Linked DNA regions of Homo sapiens: region 1 is linked to region 2. Evidence: promoter capture Hi-C in human tissues and cell types (Jung and others, 2019). All regions are on one chromosome and are shown on one strand. The core of a region is centred on a gene start or on the middle of the fragment in contact, and the rest is flanking DNA. Distances in the headings are between cores, read along the strand shown.

Evidence for each region. Contacts are between HindIII fragments. The study calls those that stand out against the background at their distance.
Region 1: a contact is called between the fragment with the promoter of SPEG here and the fragment with the promoter of ASIC4 in region 2, in 3 of the 25 tissues and cell types used here (H1 embryonic stem cells, neural progenitor cells and psoas muscle).

The regions. Positions count from the first base shown.
Region 1 is chr2:219,433,556-219,436,255 of GRCh38, reverse strand. SPEG (striated muscle enriched protein kinase) reads right to left here and starts at 1,413. Exons shown (of 41, transcript NM_005876.5): 1 at 891-1,413. The coding sequence starts at 1,278. The HindIII fragment of the contact is 17,008 bases long and covers 1-2,700 here.
Region 2 is chr2:219,513,044-219,515,743 of GRCh38, reverse strand. ASIC4 (acid sensing ion channel subunit family member 4) reads right to left here and starts at 1,262. Exons shown (of 10, transcript NM_018674.6): 1 at 438-1,262. The coding sequence starts at 1,019. All of the region lies in intron 1 of ASIC4-AS1 (ASIC4 antisense RNA 1), which reads left to right. RefSeq lists a silencer at 1,164-1,339 and an enhancer at 2,624-2,700. The HindIII fragment of the contact is 23,008 bases long and covers 1-2,700 here.

The DNA.
Region 1 (2,700 bases), core at 164-2,663, 80 kb after region 2:
ACTGGGCCCAGCCTCTTGCCCTCCCCTTCTGCCTCAGACCCTCAGCCTTTTCTTCACACTGCACCTGGAAATCTATGGGCGGGGGACAAGCACTGGTCCATAGCATCCCCCTTCCATGCTCTGGAAACATCCACTCTGGAAGCTCAGGTAGACATGGTCCAGGAGCTTCCCATTCCAGCTCCACGTGCCCATACCTCACCTGTTTGCACCACCACACAGAATCCAGGGCCCTCCACAGCACCCATGCAGGCACACACCTGCATGTGGATTCTCAAGCACTCACCTCCATTCATGCCCATGGGGCCCTGGCTCGGGCTCCACCTCCTCCTACCCTGGACCCTGTTCACACGTGGCCAACCATAGGCCTCTTCCACACCCCACCTAGAGCTGACCACATCAACCCTGCCACGGCAATGGCCTGCAGGGAGCTCTGAGCCATCCCTTCAACAGTGCAGCCTGGACCAGAGGAGCTGGCCCCCTCCTTCGGACATGGACTCCCCTGTTAAGGAGCTGATCGGAGTGTCAATCTCAAGTTTAAATCATGGAACTGAAGGACACCCTTTCCCCCAGGAGGCTTTTCTCCACAGGAGGAGAAGAACTTCCACCCCAGAATTCCCTGAGAGGTGGGAGTGGGTCTCAGGCTTGGCTTATCAACCGCTTGCTGCCCCTTGACCTCTGACCTTCCTGTGGGGAGCCTCTCTACCTTGACACCCCATTCCCTGCACTTGGCTCTTCGTCTCACTTCTGGGGCCGGGCAGCCGAGAAGCCAGGGCACCTGGGAAGAAGGCGGCGGAACCAGTATCCAGTACCTTACCCGCGTGGCCTGGGCAGCCCTTTTCTACCTCTGAGCACCCCGCCCCTGCCGGGCGCGGCCCCCACCTGCCCTTTACCTCCGACCTCCAGCACTGTGAGCACCGCCTCGCAGGAGGCCCGGCCCCGCTCGTTCTGGGCCATGCAGCTGTACACGCCGGCGTCCTGCGCCCCGCAGCGCCGCAGCCACAGGCAGCTGGGCTCGGGGGCCGGCGCGGGCAGGAGCTGCCCATCCCGGAACCAGCGGAGGCTGGGCTGGGGCGTCCCGCTCACCACCACCCGCAGCCGCACGTCGCTGCCCGCGCACACCGCCGCGTTCTTCAGGGGCCGCAGGAAGACTGGCGCCCCGGCCACGGCCACAGGAGCCCCGCCGCCGGCCCCCACCTTGGCCCTTTTCGGGGGCACTCCGGGGCTGGGGGGTGCCCTCGTGCCCGCATCCTCGCCTCGCGTGCCCCGGGCTTTCTGCATGGCCACTGAGAGCTGGGCTGGGGGGACGCCGGAACTGGGCGGCCACGGGGGCACCCGCGGGACGGTGCCCTAGGAGACAAGTCTGGGGGGCCGGCGGCCTGCCTTCCTGCTGCCCGCCCGCCTTCGGCCTGTGCTACCCAGAAGGTCACCGGGGCGGCCGGCGATTGCGCCTGGGGGCTATTTTTAGGCCCCCCGGCTCGGGTTGCGAGGGAGCCGTGGAGGGAGGGGGCAGCAGGGGAGGGACTTGACTCCACTTGGCTCCTTCTCTCCCTCCAGGAGCCCCCATCGCCGGCCCGGCTTAAGGGAGTCCCTCGGTATTTGTTCCAGGCTTTCCCCTCCGTAGTGTGCCTGGCCCCCACACGACCCACTGCAGGGAGTCAGGTTACCCCTGGGCTCAATCCCATTTCCCTTCCTCCCTCATCTCAGACCCCTCATCCCTGCCCGGCTTCGCTGGGAGGGGAAGAAGAGGAACGGTCCTGGTGAGATGCCTGAGAGGTGGATGGGGAGGCAGGCCCAAGTGGAGGTGAGCAGACAGCTCCGAAGAGGGACCATGGCCTCCCCCAGCGCCTCCATTACAGCTGGCGAACAGTAAGACCAGGAGCCTGGGAGTCAGGTGGATTGGGGCCTCCACTGCGCCCTGCCCTTACTTGCTGGGTGACACCAAACCTCTCTCAACCTCCAAGTCCTCATCTGTAAGAATGGGTGGTGGAATAGGGTTGCAATAGGCAGAAAAGAGTGGGCAGGACATTCCAGGCAGAGGGAACGGCATGAACAAAATGAGCCTGATGAAAACAAAGGCGTCCTGGGAATTAGAGAGGTTTGGAGGGATTGAAGCGTAGTGGGTGGGGTGAGTGGAAGAAGGGAGGTGGGGCCTGGAGAAGGCTTTGTTTGCTAAGGCTTTGGTTTCTCTACCCTGAAAGCAGGGGGCGCCACTACACAGCTTTAAGCGGCAGAAAAAACACGGTGGGAGCTGTGTCTTAGGAGGATCCTCTTGGCGGCCACAAAGTGGAGGATGGATAGAAATGACGGCCAGTTCAAGTAAAGGCCAGATTCCCAGCCTCCTTGCCCCACACTGGTTCAGCAGCTGAGCTGGGAGGAATCTGCACATTTAACAAATGACTCAACTGATTCTGATGTGCCTAAGTGTTGCACGTTGAGAAACATCAAGAGTCCAGATGAGACCTTTGTGATAGAACAGTTCTGTATCTTGGCTGGGCGCGGTGGCTAACACCTGTAATTCCAGCACTTTGGGAGGCCGAGGTGGGTGGATCACTTGAACTCAGGAATTCAACACCAGCCTGGCCAACATGGTGAAACCTGTCTCTACTAAAAATACAAAAAATTAGCCAGGTGTAGTGGCTCATGCCTGTAGTCCCAGCTACTCAGGAGGCTGAGGCAGGAGAATCGCTTGAACCTGGGAGG
Region 2 (2,700 bases), core at 13-2,512:
CCTCCCCTCCCTATCTCCTTCGTTTGGTGGGAAGAATCCAGTAGCCTCAGAAGAAAAAGGGAGCAAGAGAAAAGTGAGAGTCAGTTGGTCTGGCCTTGGGATGGTGCGTGCGTTCCCTGCAAGCCAGCCAGCTCCAGGACACCTGGGCCCATGCCTAGGAACCCCCACCCCAACTCCCAGACCTGGGCACTGCAGCAGCAGCAAAACCAAGAAGAGGAGCAGCAGGCGCCCCAGGGTAAGCCCCTATGAGCGGCCACTGCTCCATGGCTGGGAAGCCAGAGGGAGACGCCAGGCTTGGGGAAACACGAGGCCAGCCTCTGGTGGTGGAATGAAGGGAAGCCCTGTTGAGGATGCCCCTGTACACCACTGCCACCACTCCTCCCCACTCCCCAGCCTCCGGCCATCCAAGGCCAGGCAGCCCAGCTGGCAGAACTCACCACAGAGAAGTTGCTGGCGGAGCAGTGATGCCCACTGAAGTTGCAGCTCTTAAGCATGTCGGCGAGCTGGTGGCCAGTGCGGTTGAGGATGTCTACCATGTCAGGCTCTGGGTAGCGCAGGCCAGCCGCACGGTGCCCATCCCGGTCTTTGGGGGGCAGCCCTGTCAGATTGGCCAGGTGGAAGATGTCGGCATCGCTGAGTGCCGAATGCCGGAAGCGGTTGATATTGCAGAGGGTGACAGCCGGGAAGCCCGCCACTGGGGCTGGGGCAGCGGGGTCCATTGCCACCAGGTGAGGCCGGGTCAGGTAGCCCCGGGCCAGGCCAGCCGCCTGGTACAGGAAGGCAGCCAGCGAGGTGAGTAGGGCCAGTGCCCACAGGGTTCTGCGCAGTCCGTGGGGGCCTGGGCCACAGGCCCGGCCCAGTCCATGCAGGGTGCTGGTGCTGGCAAAGGTGGCCAGGTCTCGGGGGGCTGCTCCAGGGGCAACAGCCCCGAGGAGGCTCTGCTCATCCCCTGCCTCCTTCTCCTTGGGTTTCGCATCCTCCTCAGCAAATTTGATTTTGCACACAATCTCGATCGGCATCTGTCCCCGGCTGCTGGGACTGGCCAGAGCCTCCCTGCCCTGTCCCTCCCTAGCCAGCAGCCCTGGTGCCCTCCCGAGTGGCAGTGGTGGCAGCGGCTGCTCTTCTAAACTCAGGGCAAGCGGGAAGAGGACAGGGACAGGGTGGGGGCCCGAGGTGGGGGAGTCACTCCCACTCCCAGCAGCTCCGCAGCCCTGGTGCTGCCTCTGCCGCTGCTGCCTCTGCTGCCGCTTGTCTCTCTCCTCGATCGTCTCCTTGTGGCTTCCCTTATCAGCACCAGCACAGCTGTCAGCCCCTGCGTGTGTCCCTGCGAGCGAGCGAGTGAGCGAGGGAGCGAGCGCTGCTCCGCCACGCCGCGCAGCCCCAGCCGCTCCGCTCAGCATGTGCTCCGGAGCCCTCCCCACGCTTAATAATTCAGGACATGTCAACAGCGTTTCACCGGCAGCACGGGCGTCAGGAGCCAGGCCAGGGGAGGGGGCAGTCCCCAGCCCAGGACAGAGATCCCAAGACTGGGGCTATCCCCCAAACTCCTGCTGCACCCTAGCCGCTCACTGGGTCCCCAGATCTCCCCACTTCCTGGCCACCCAGGGAAGGGTGCCGTGCCCAGGGTCCTCAGCTCATTCTTTGCCACTTTCCTGGCCCACACCCCATGAAGGGTCAGCCAACTCTATCCCCCCACCTCCTGGCCTCTGAGACTCCTGACTCCAGCACCCAGCCACCACCTGATCCCACTACCCGACTCACAGCAGCTTCCAGAAACTCCTTGAGAGAGCCACTTGTTTGAATGACGGAGGGAGGGGGGCAGAGGAGGGCAGGCTAGACAGACCAGGGGACAACTGTGACTTCAAGATTCTCAGCTTCCCTGGAGCTTTGCTCCAGACTTCAACACCCACCATGCCCCTGCCCCCTCTGGGAGGCTGGCTGCCCTCACCCTCATTTTGCCCCCAACCCCAATCTCAGTCATTCATATGTCTGGGACAGACAGCACCCTGGCCAGCTTGCATATCTGTGGCCACTTTGCTTCCCCAAATGTTCCCCAAATCCCTTGCCACAACCAGGCTTCGGGGGAGGGCTGTTGGGTAAGCAAGCCAGGGAGCAAAGGGGAGGTGTGCTTCCGGGGTGCTCTATATGTAGGGGGACAGGGCATGCAATGGAGGGAGAGGAAGAGCCCCAGTGGGGGCGTGGAAGGGAGCAGGAAGATGTGCTGGGCGTCAATGGGAGCGAATGCTCTCCTAAAGAAAGGGGTTTGAGGGGTGCCTGGCAGAGTGGGGCAGGAGAGCCCTAAGGGGTCTGCTGTGTTCTCGTGGAGGGGAACAGGCATGTGGGCCATCATCATAGGTGGGGGTGGGAGCCTCAGTTGACTGGCCAGGAGGGGATGCATCCATGCCCCCAGGGTGGGGGTGGCAAGAATCAGTGCTTGTGCTCTGGGGCCCCATCCGACAGCATGTGCCCTCACGGGGGAGGAAGCCCTTGTCCCCGGGAGGAAAGGGGGGCTGATTAATCGGGGCGCTAATGAGCAGCAGGGAGAGGAAGCGTGGACGGGCGGGGGGAGGTGGCTCCATCGATCCAAGCCGCAGAACCAGCAGCTGAGAAAAAAAGTGAGAAAGGAATCGATCTGAGGGAAACGGCAGCTGCTGGGGATTAGAGCCCGAGGTCCACCCGCTGCCCAACGGCCACCCCGCC